Regions from separate parts of the Homo sapiens genome. Here region 2 is linked to region 1. Evidence: promoter capture Hi-C in 16 types of primary human blood cells and fetal thymus (Javierre and others, 2016). All regions are on one chromosome and are shown on one strand. Each heading gives the region's core, a stretch centred on a gene start or on the middle of the fragment in contact. The rest is flanking DNA. Distances are from core to core; before and after follow the strand shown. Region 1 holds the start of FAF1 (Fas associated factor 1). Region 2 holds the start of JUN (Jun proto-oncogene, AP-1 transcription factor subunit).

Evidence for each region. The method cuts DNA at HindIII sites, captures the fragments that hold promoters and counts their contacts. A CHiCAGO score of 5 or more calls a contact.
Region 2: a contact is called between the fragment with the promoter of JUN here and the fragment with the promoter of FAF1 in region 1, in 1 of 17 cell types (activated CD4 T cells). The highest score is 12.1, in activated CD4 T cells.

Annotation. Positions count from the first base shown.
Region 1 is chr1:50,958,721-50,964,657 of GRCh38, reverse strand. FAF1 (Fas associated factor 1) reads left to right here and starts at 4,391. Exons shown (of 19, transcript NM_007051.3): 1 at 4,391-4,891. The coding sequence starts at 4,847. It also overlaps a transcript of CDKN2C not described here. RefSeq lists silencers at 4,425-4,584, 4,695-4,744 and an enhancer at 5,055-5,104. The HindIII fragment of the contact is 1,270 bases long and covers 4,233-5,502 here.
Region 2 is chr1:58,782,134-58,787,759 of GRCh38, reverse strand. JUN (Jun proto-oncogene, AP-1 transcription factor subunit) reads left to right here and starts at 3,713. Exons shown (of 1, transcript NM_002228.4): 1 at 3,713-5,626. The coding sequence starts at 4,690. JUN-DT (JUN divergent transcript) reads right to left here and starts at 2,609. Exons shown (of 2, transcript NR_108106.1): 1 at 2,455-2,609. RefSeq lists enhancers at 2,522-3,267, 3,494-3,753, 3,268-4,015, 5,424-5,603 and a silencer at 5,274-5,353. The HindIII fragment of the contact is 7,855 bases long and covers 393-5,626 here.

The sequences.
Region 1 (5,937 bases), core at 3,142-5,641:
GACATAGGATTTGAATTCAGTTCTTGGGGCTCCAAACCTTATACTTTTTCCATTAGTCCAGGGTCCGCCACTAGTATCCTAAACAACACTAAATCACTAGATGAAATACATATGTGCAGTAGCATTAGTTTTCTCATGAATTACATTATGAGCAAGAAGTATTATTTAAGAAATTGGTTATCTTAACCAAAGAATCAAGGTTATCACTACCAGTAATAACTCAAGTTGATAACACATGGCCTTGATATGATGTAACAAGGACATATCACCTCTGCGGTGATACACATCTCAGTGTAATTCTGAGAATACATTAGGTAATCCCAGATTGAGGGAGATTTTATAAAGTTCCTGACTCTTCAGAAGTGTCCACTGAGAAACTGTCACAGATTGGAAGAGGCTACTGAGACATGACAACTAAATGTAATGTGGTATTATTGGACCATGGAACAAGAAAAGGACATTAGTGTAAAAATCCAAATAGAGCCTCCAGAATTTAACTAGTAGTATTTAGCAGTGTTAATTTCCTAGTTTTGATAGATGTACCATGTTAAATAAGATGGTAACATTAGAGAAAAATGGGCTAAAAGCATATAGGAACATTCTGTACTGTCTTTGGAAGTATTCTAAAATAATTTCAAATAAAAATTTAGTAAAATATAAATAATATTTATTATTTATATTGGAAATAAAGATGATATAAAAGTTTCTTTTAAAAGAACATGGAGATTCTAGAAAAAGATCTGTATTTAACTTAGGCTGAGCTCCATGAACTACTGTGGGCCAACTATGAGAATAGATAAATTAAAATTACTTTTCTTTGCTCGTGCATGGACCAAATTTCTTTACATTTCCTTCTTTTGGTTTATGACACTTAACTGAAATTGTTTCTCTTAAGGATGGAATTCTGGAGAAATGAAAAATGATTTTTTTTCTCCTAATTCAGTATTTATTTTTCTTCCCTTCTCTTATCTGTAGTAGATAACCACTCTGGATGCTAGGTATCCAACCATGAAGAGTTAGGCCATAGGGAAGAAACAGTGTCTTTGGGAATGGTATAAACTAAGCAGCATGGAAGGGAAATTGTACAGAGGCAACATGGTAAGTGGAAGGAGCACTAATTTGACCTAGTCTTGAATCCTAGGTCTGTCACTCTGTAGCATGACTTTGAGCAAATTCTTAACTTGCCAGAGCAGCTTTATATTCTGTAAAGTAGTAGTTGTAAATATTAAATGAGATAAAGTTTGTAATGTATCTGTACATAGTAGACTCCCAATAAAAATTAATAAATTCAAAAGCATTTGCCATCTGTTATGTTCACAAGACTTTGCTATGTTTGCACTATGGTGAATATAAAAACACATGGCATAAAGCGGTTTATAATCTCAAGAAACTTTCAACCTTTGGGGGGAGATTAAACATACATATATGAAAACAATTAGAGAAAAAAATTACAAAATTTACTGGAGCACTAAGTTGTGTTGTAAAGATAGTAAAAGCAGTAATTAGAAAGGAGAAAGATCCTTACTGGCTTAAATTTTATGAAAGGGGTGGTCCTGAGAAAAGCATTTAGGAATTGGTATACAGAGTAATAACTAATATGTTTGGAGAGTTTTAAGGTTTATGAGGAATTTTCACAAGCATTTGATCATTCAACATTCAAAATCACAAGCTTTTTAGCCCAATTTTAGAGATAAAGAAATAGAACCAGAGAGCCTTTGTTAAAGAGCAGAGTTAGAACTCAAACCACAATTATTGACTATTAAATTTATGTTAGTGTGATACCAATATTTTATATTTTCCATGCATTTTCATAATTGTTTTTTCATTTATCAGAGGAAATAGTCCTGTGAGTAGCTGAAGTCAGAGAGATTAAATGACTCATCCAAGTTCCCTCAGCTAATTATTTGGAAAAGCAGTACTAATATATGCCTGAATGTCTAGTGTGTTCATCCCATTGTTCTACATACCACATTGTTTTAATTTCCAGATGGAGAGAAAGGAAAGAAAAAGGGAGCAACATGGGATTTGAATGGGTTCTGAGGTACACACGCATCATTACAGAGAAAAACTCTCAACTTTTTAGGACTGCATTAATCCTTGGCCATATAACTAGAAACAATTATTCACCTGCCTTATACTGAGGGTGGCCTATATGAATGGGGCAACTGAATTGCCACATTTATATTATTGGTGCTGTGTTTTGCCTCATGATTCACATTTGTGCTGACTTTTGGAATTACTTTCTTTTTAAAAAAATATTTATTTATTTATTTTGAAACAGTTTTACTCTGTCACCCAGGCTGGGGTGCAGTAGTGTGATCTTGGTTCACACTGCAACCTCCACCTCCCAGGTTCAGGTGATTCTCCTCCCTCAGCCTCCCTAGTAGCTGGGACTACAGGCATATGCCACCATGCCCAGCTAATTTTTGTATTATTTTTAGCAGAGATGGGATTTCACTATGTTGGCCAGGCTGGTCTTGAACTCCTGACCTCAAGTGATCTGCCTGCCTCGGCCTCCCAAAGTGTTGGGATTATAGGCATAAGCCACTGCCCTGGCCATGGAATTATTTTCTTACGGCTGAAAATTAAGCAAGACATTTTGATTCATGTGACTGTGGAGGGTTCTATTATCTAGCTAATTCTGGTCTAAACACAGATTAGTACTTAAGAACTGTAGGCCAGCCTATTTTCATTTAAGGAAACACACAGAATAAACTCAGATCATAATACAGTGCACTTCTTTATATTCAGTGAAACTGAACAATTAGGTCATATTTCTGATTTCTCATGAATATATTCCCAGTTTATGGAGCCTAGGCCTTGCTGGGTGTGGTGGTATGGCTCACACCTGTAATCCCCACTCTCAGGAGGCTGAGGTGGGAGGATGGCTTGAGCACAGGAGTTGGAAGCCAGCCTGGGCAACATAGTGAGGCCCTGTCTCTAAAAAAGTAAATAAATGATACAAGTTTAAAAAGTTCTTAAGGGAAGCCTAGGCCTTCATGCTACATGATGATTTCACTAGTTATTTTAGCTCTACAGGATAAAATCAGCAATCTTACTTCACATTTTCAAGCTTTTACATACTTTCCAAAGCAAGTAAATGCCCCATGACAATCCAGAAGCTGATATTTTCCCAAGTCAAGGATGAACAACTTCCACTGTCACACTTTCTCTAACCTGGACGACAATTACAAACTGTCACACTTCATTGTACATAGTCTTTGGCTGTTTTAGTTACAGAGGTTGTCAATTTCTGACCATGGGTTGAAACTTTCAATATTTGGTGAATATTCCAAAATAATTTCTTATGAAAATGAATAGGCCGGGTGCAGTGGCTCACGCCTGTAATCCCAACACTTTGGGAGGCCGAGGAGGGCGGATCACGAGGACAGGAGTTCGAGATCAGCTTGCCCAACATAGTGAAACCCCGTCTCTACTAAAAATACAAAAAAAACTTAGCCGGGCTTGGTGGCGGGAGCCTGTAATCCCAGCTACTATGGAGGCTGAGGCAGGAGAATCGCTTGAACCCAGAAAGCGGAGGTCGCAGCGAGCCGAGATCGCGCCACTGCACTCCAGCCCGGGCCACAGTGCGAGACTCCGTCTCAAAATAATAAATAAATAAATAAATAAATAAATAAATAAAAATAGACTGACTATATTCAAAGCTGGATTCAAGTTTTATCCCATTTGTAAGATGTCTCAGCTTAAAAAAACAAATATAACTGCAGCAGTAGAAAGGTTTTCCCTTTTTTCCCCCTTTGGAGCAACCCTATTAACTCGAGGTTGTTATTTCTCATAACTACCTTATCAATTAAAAAAAATGCTCCTCCTCTTCTCTGGAACGAGATTTTTACCTTTCTCAGCTTCCTCGTCTCTCCCATGTCTACCATGGCAGTCTGGTTACTTCTGTGTTACGGAGTCTGAGGATGCAGACGTCAGGGAGCTTGGGACTGGGTGTGACAGTGTGGATTCGGTTTTGACAGGTTGAGCGTGAGAGACTATATGAAGCTGTATTTTGCTGAAACATTGTAGAGAAAAACATATATTTCTGAAATGCTGTTTGTTAGACGAGTTGTAACAGTGTGTTTAGTTGGTTTGTGAGGGTGGTGTGTATTTGTGTGACTAACCACGTGAGGTGCACAATCTGGTCCCCGCCTCAGCTAGGGGGAGGCGCTATCCTGAGGCCTTTGCTTAAATCCAAACTGGAATAACCTGTTGCGAGACTTGAAGCTTCCGCAGCTGCAGGTTGCAGTCTCTGCCGCCAGCGCAGAGATCCTGGCCGGGTAGTCGCGCGCTCAGCGCTTGACAGGAGGGTGGTCACGTGGAGCCGCAAAGCGGCGCTTTGCGACCTCGATGACAGGCAAAATGTGCGACAGCCGTGGCGCTGGCCAACCAGGGGCGGAGGCGGCGGCCAGGGAGGAAGCGGAGGAGGCGGAGGCGGCCGCGGCGTTCGCCCGCCCGCTCGCTCGCTCGGTTTCCCCGCCCCCGCCGGGCTTAACGCCGCTGAAGGTATCCGGGTGCGCGCTGTCGCAACCTGCCCTCATCCTGGCCCGCGACTGTAAGACCGGACCCACATCCAGACCAATCTTCCTGTCCGGGCTGCTGCGACGCGGGCTCCGCAGGTTGCAGGCGGGCGGCCGGGGCGCCTGAAGGTTACCGAGTGCATGAGCGCCTAGCGCTTCCCGCGCTGCCCCGCCCGCTGGCCCGCCGACCCGCCCGCCGGCTCGCCCGCCAGCCCCTCGGCGCCCGGCGGCGGCGGCGGCGGTGGCGGCGACGGTCGCAGGAGGTGCCGTCTGCCTCCCAGGTGCGCGCTTCGCTCCCGGAGCCGCGGAACTCGGCGGCCGCCATGGCGTCCAACATGGACCGGGAGATGATCCTGGCGGATTTTCAGGTGAAGTATCTGGCCCTCTTCCCCTCCCACTTCCAACCTCGTGGGTTTCCGGTGCCACAAGGGAGTCTTCTTCCCAGCGTTTGAACGCTGCAGTGGTGTGTCATTTAGGCTTTTATACGGTGCGTGGCGTGTGTGTGTGTGTGTGGCGAGCTATGGAGAAGCGTATAATTTATATGCTATCATGAGTGTGTAGAATGTGTTAAGTACGGGTTGAATGGGATTGGAGGTATTAATGACTTGGGTTACAATGTGTGTGGAATGTGTAGTGTTTCCTGTATTATATGGGGGGACGTGTAGAGTTTTTGTTTTAATTGGTGTTGGACCATTAAGTATGGGATGTTTTGGGTGGTTCTGTGGGGAGAGATGTATGGAGTGTGAGCGTGGAGCGTGTGGTGTTATGGGCGTGGTGTATTTATATTGTATTAAGGGAAGAGTAAAAAAGCAGAATGATGAGATGGCGAGGGCAATGACAATGGGGTACTGAGGTCCTTTTCAAAGAGGAGTAAACATTTGAGACTTTGCCTAATTGGAATCTTTGGAGGGTAAGAAGATAACAAGGAGACAGATAAGACTATATATTCCAGAGTATCTCTGCAATGAATTCACAAGCTTAATAAATTACCTATTCATATTTGCGGATTCCCCTCCCCTACAGACTTGAATTGCTTGGTTGGTGTCCTTTCTCCAGGAATACTTTAAAGGATAAGTAAAGGCTGTTCTCTTAATAAACCCAGTCGTAGTGCCACTGACATGTAAGTATCTTAGGAAGGCCCTTTGAAAGTAGAACTGTATGCATTGTGAAAGACTTGGAGCTAGAACTAATATCCTGTGAGTGCTACCTTTGCCTTTTGATGTTTGGTGAAGGAATTATTTTAGTGAGATATTTTTGGCCATTTTGGCATCAACTTAGAAGCTACTGTCAAGTATAGGCAGACTTTTCCCTCTTTTTTAATACTCACATTGCACAGGTTCTAACACTAGCTTAGTAGGCAGTATTTTTCCTTGCTGAAATTTTGTTGGGCTTTTCTCTCTCTCTGTTCTATTAA
Region 2 (5,626 bases), core at 2,464-4,963, 7.8 Mb before region 1:
ATTGCACTCCAACCAGGGCAACAAGAGTGAAACTCCGTCTCAGAAAAAAAAAAAAAAGGATCAATTAAGATCTTACCCAGTATATACTTTCAACTGGACAAAATGGCTCTGGGAAAAGGAAGAAAGGTCTAACTCTCCCATCAAAACCCAATAAGCCCAAAGTGCTCAAAATCAAGTGAAGAGCAAGAGAGTGAGACGGCAAAAGAGAGACAGAGGAGTCAACAGGCAGGAGAGCAGGAAAGCAAAGAGATATGGCAAACCAAAGAAGTATGTCTGGAAAAGAACTTTGTGGCTATTGTCACATGGAACACCTCATATCAGATAGATAAGAAGCCTACCTACACATATTCAAGACTTAATGTCACTCTGCATCTCCCCAACTTTTAAAAGCTTATTTAAAAGCATATTTTCCAATGCCTGCTTTAGCTGTGGAAAAGGAAGACTCTCCGAGGGCAAATCCAGGAGTCATGGAAAACAATGGGCAGGGCAGCTTGGTGCTGTGACTGGATGGGTCTTTAAGGTTGTTTCCCTTGAATAAAGAATGAGGGAATTCCACCAGGGGAAGGAGAGTAGACCAAACATTTGGTGAACAGAAAGGGAGACAGAGTCTTTAGTGTTATTCCCCAAATATTCCTGGAGAGCCCTTTGAGACACCTGGTAGGATTATAGTGATCTAAAGAGGCATGGCCATGTGACTGCTTTGGCCAATGATGTATGGGCAGAAGTGATGTGTGCCATAAGTGGATGCTCTGACAGCCATGATGTTCCGAGTTCCTTCCCCACAGTCAGGATAGCTGTGAAAAGGGGTATCAACACGAGGCCTCCTTCAGCCTGAGCCCTTTAGTGACTACAATGAGCAGAGCTACCCTGCCAACCTACAACGGTCATGTAGCAGAAATGACCAACTTTCACTGGAATAAGCCACTGATATGTTAGGGTTGTTTGTTAGGGCAGCATAACACTGCCTTTCCTGACAGAACTGGGAGTGAGAGATAAGGCTGGAGAGAGAAGGAGTTGGATTGTGAAAAGCCCCTTCTCCAAGGCATAGGAATCGGAACTCTCCTGATTGTAAGGAAAAGCCAATGAAGGCTTCCAAGCAGGGGCGTTAACATGAACAGATTTGTTATTTTTTTGGATGAAATATGCTATTTCTCAACATAAGGAGAAGATCAGCCTACTAAACCACATGAGGCAGAGAGGAACACACAGAACCTTAGGCAAAAGATATATATTTATGCAAAGTCCTAAGTCTTGAAATTTCTAAATACAAGAGCTCTGAACGGAGTTACAGTCAGAGGATCAGGCAAGAAAATTTCTTCTATGCCACAAGCGCTATTTCCTCTGCAGATAACTAATACTCCACAAGAAAGTTTGCCAGAGTAGAGAAAATACAAAGGAATGTAACACAGACCTGAGGTCAATTTCCAGCTGCCTGTGTGACCTCAACAAAGATACTTAACCTCTCTGGGCCTATTTCCTCACATGTTAAATCTGGATAATAATATATGTCTCTCAAGACAGTTGTGGGGAGAAAACAGCGTATTTAAATTGCTTAGGAGAATGCCTGGCAGATAATAAGTGTTTAATACATGAAACTGATTTTTATTACTGTTATTAAAAAATATTTAGAACACCAACTCCCTGAATACAACAGAAAATGATTCAGGGCAACAGACAGAGGAGAATGTTCTCTCCTTGAGGAAGCAACTGGATCTTGTCATCACTGTATACCTACCTACCCCACCCCCTCCCCAGCTCAGTGCCTGGCTCACAGTAGGCTTTCAGTTACCCTCTGCAGATCAGTGAAAGCTAGGTGAGTGCCCGGAGTGAAGAAAAGTTGGCAGGTTTCCCACTGATACCAGCTGCTGTTGGTTTCTGAACACTCAAAGCCGCAAATACCTTAGGGCTGGGGGCAATGAACCCAAGGCTGAATTCCAAGTTCAGAAGCAGCGAAGTCTGAATTTAGAACCTAGGAACTTAAACTGCTGCAGGTCCAACTTCAAGCCCCAGTTTTAGACAGAGGCTTGGGAAAGATCTGACTTCTAACCCGGTTCCCCCTCCCCTCCTCCCCTCGATGCTTCTCACAGGAAAGTACACCTGGTCCTGCCAAATCGCACTCTTATATCCTGGCATCCTATCCAGGCTCTGCGAGGATGGAAACTGCGAGGCAGGGGAGGGAAGCGGGCTGTTTGGCCACCACCTCCCTAGTGCTGCAGGCGACCCTGTCACACTAACTCCTGGCAGCCCAGTGAGGTGGACGGCACCGGCCCCACCTGCAGATGAGGGAAATGAAGCTCGGAGGAGTTCCGTGATTTGCTTGCTTCACACTGTGGTAGCCTGGCCACGAAAGAACCAGGATTCCCGACTTCGGGATTCTTTCCACCACACACTTTCGTCCCTAAGGGGTGGGGGGCGGGGGGAGAATAAAATAACCGCGGAAAAGGAACCACTTACATGTGTCTAGCGCTTCCTAGAGGCTACCCAGGATATGCGCCCACCACCCGGCCGGGAGTGCAGAGATTTGAAGTCCAGGTTCTACCCCGGGCTCCGAGTACTACTGCGTGACTTTATGCGAGTGTCCGCCGCCTTCTGGGCTTGTTTTCCCGGAAGCAACTCGGCGCGGATGGAGTGTGTGTGTGCGCGCGCGCGCGCGTTATGTTGTGCGTGTTGTGTTAAGCGTGTGCGTGTTGTCCGGGGGCGGGAGGGGGAGTAGACTAACACCGGGGTTCCCCGAGTTTCGGATCGCCTACACGCTTGTTCCCATCTGGACCCTGTTACCCACCAATTGCGCCCACTATAAAAACTGCCCCTCCGAGGCAAAGCTGTGAACCCCCGCGCCCTTTCCCCCACGGTCCCGGAGGATGAAGTGGGGTGCAACGGAGACTCAGCTGAGCGTCCAGTTTCGGGCAATACAAATCTCTCGGCTTCTACGAGCAGCCAGACGACCCCGCGGACCGTCGCTCCTGAACTTGACCGAGATGCAAACTTCGGAGTGTTCTCAACGTGGGGGGCCGACTCTCGGGAGACCGCCCCTAAACTTAAGTCCCCTTAGGCTCGCCCCCACCTGGGACTTCACAGAGCCACCTTAAGGGCGGTATTCCCGCCCCCCCGGAAGTGCGGGGGGGTGGCAGCGTACTTGGATTCTCAGCCTCCAGCCCCGCGCGGTGGCGGCCGCCGGTGGATGACTTCGGGCCCCACAAGTGGGGAAACAACAACCACCCCTCGCCCGCACCCCTGGCCCAAAACAACTGGCCAGGTTCCCTGGCCTCCCGGGTCCCTGCATCCCCCGCATCCCCGTCCGCAGCCGTGAACTTGAGCCCCCCTCCATCAGAGGTTGCGAGCGTCCGCCCGCTCGCGGCAGCCACCGTCACTAGACAGTCAAACCCCAAGACGTCAGCCCACAATGCACCGGGCGGGCCGGGAAAAACGGCCCGGGGAGGGGACCGGGGAAGAGAGGGCCGAGAGGCGTGCGGCAGGGGGGAGGGTAGGAGAAAGAAGGGCCCGACTGTAGGAGGGCAGCGGAGCATTACCTCATCCCGTGAGCCTCCGCGGGCCCAGAGAAGAATCTTCTAGGGTGGAGTCTCCATGGTGACGGGCGGGCCCGCCCCCCTGAGAGCGACGCGAGCCAATGGGAAGGCCTTGGGGTGACATCATGGGCTATTTTTAGGGGTTGACTGGTAGCAGATAAGTGTTGAGCTCGGGCTGGATAAGGGCTCAGAGTTGCACTGAGTGTGGCTGAAGCAGCGAGGCGGGAGTGGAGGTGCGCGGAGTCAGGCAGACAGACAGACACAGCCAGCCAGCCAGGTCGGCAGTATAGTCCGAACTGCAAATCTTATTTTCTTTTCACCTTCTCTCTAACTGCCCAGAGCTAGCGCCTGTGGCTCCCGGGCTGGTGTTTCGGGAGTGTCCAGAGAGCCTGGTCTCCAGCCGCCCCCGGGAGGAGAGCCCTGCTGCCCAGGCGCTGTTGACAGCGGCGGAAAGCAGCGGTACCCACGCGCCCGCCGGGGGAAGTCGGCGAGCGGCTGCAGCAGCAAAGAACTTTCCCGGCTGGGAGGACCGGAGACAAGTGGCAGAGTCCCGGAGCCAACTTTTGCAAGCCTTTCCTGCGTCTTAGGCTTCTCCACGGCGGTAAAGACCAGAAGGCGGCGGAGAGCCACGCAAGAGAAGAAGGACGTGCGCTCAGCTTCGCTCGCACCGGTTGTTGAACTTGGGCGAGCGCGAGCCGCGGCTGCCGGGCGCCCCCTCCCCCTAGCAGCGGAGGAGGGGACAAGTCGTCGGAGTCCGGGCGGCCAAGACCCGCCGCCGGCCGGCCACTGCAGGGTCCGCACTGATCCGCTCCGCGGGGAGAGCCGCTGCTCTGGGAAGTGAGTTCGCCTGCGGACTCCGAGGAACCGCTGCGCACGAAGAGCGCTCAGTGAGTGACCGCGACTTTTCAAAGCCGGGTAGCGCGCGCGAGTCGACAAGTAAGAGTGCGGGAGGCATCTTAATTAACCCTGCGCTCCCTGGAGCGAGCTGGTGAGGAGGGCGCAGCGGGGACGACAGCCAGCGGGTGCGTGCGCTCTTAGAGAAACTTTCCCTGTCAAAGGCTCCGGGGGGCGCGGGTGTCCCCCGCTTGCCACAGCCCTGTTGCGGCCCCGAAACTTGTGCGCGCAGCCCAAACTAACCTCACGTGAAGTGACGGACTGTTCTATGACTGCAAAGATGGAAACGACCTTCTATGACGATGCCCTCAACGCCTCGTTCCTCCCGTCCGAGAGCGGACCTTATGGCTACAGTAACCCCAAGATCCTGAAACAGAGCATGACCCTGAACCTGGCCGACCCAGTGGGGAGCCTGAAGCCGCACCTCCGCGCCAAGAACTCGGACCTCCTCACCTCGCCCGACGTGGGGCTGCTCAAGCTGGCGTCGCCCGAGCTGGAGCGCCTGATAATCCAGTCCAGCAACGGGCACATCACCACCACGCCGACCCCCACCCAGTTCCTGTGCCCCAAGAACGTGACAGATGAGCAGGAGGGCTTCGCCGAGGGCTTCGTGCGCGCCCTGGCCGAACTGCACAGCCAGAACACGCTGCCCAGCGTCACGTCGGCGGCGCAGCCGGTCAACGGGGCAGGCATGGTGGCTCCCGCGGTAGCCTCGGTGGCAGGGGGCAGCGGCAGCGGCGGCTTCAGCGCCAGCCTGCACAGCGAGCCGCCGGTCTACGCAAACCTCAGCAACTTCAACCCAGGCGCGCTGAGCAGCGGCGGCGGGGCGCCCTCCTACGGCGCGGCCGGCCTGGCCTTTCCCGCGCAACCCCAGCAGCAGCAGCAGCCGCCGCACCACCTGCCCCAGCAGATGCCCGTGCAGCACCCGCGGCTGCAGGCCCTGAAGGAGGAGCCTCAGACAGTGCCCGAGATGCCCGGCGAGACACCGCCCCTGTCCCCCATCGACATGGAGTCCCAGGAGCGGATCAAGGCGGAGAGGAAGCGCATGAGGAACCGCATCGCTGCCTCCAAGTGCCGAAAAAGGAAGCTGGAGAGAATCGCCCGGCTGGAGGAAAAAGTGAAAACCTTGAAAGCTCAGAACTCGGAGCTGGCGTCCACGGCCAACATGCTCAGGGAACAGGTGGCACAGCTTAAACAGAAAGTCA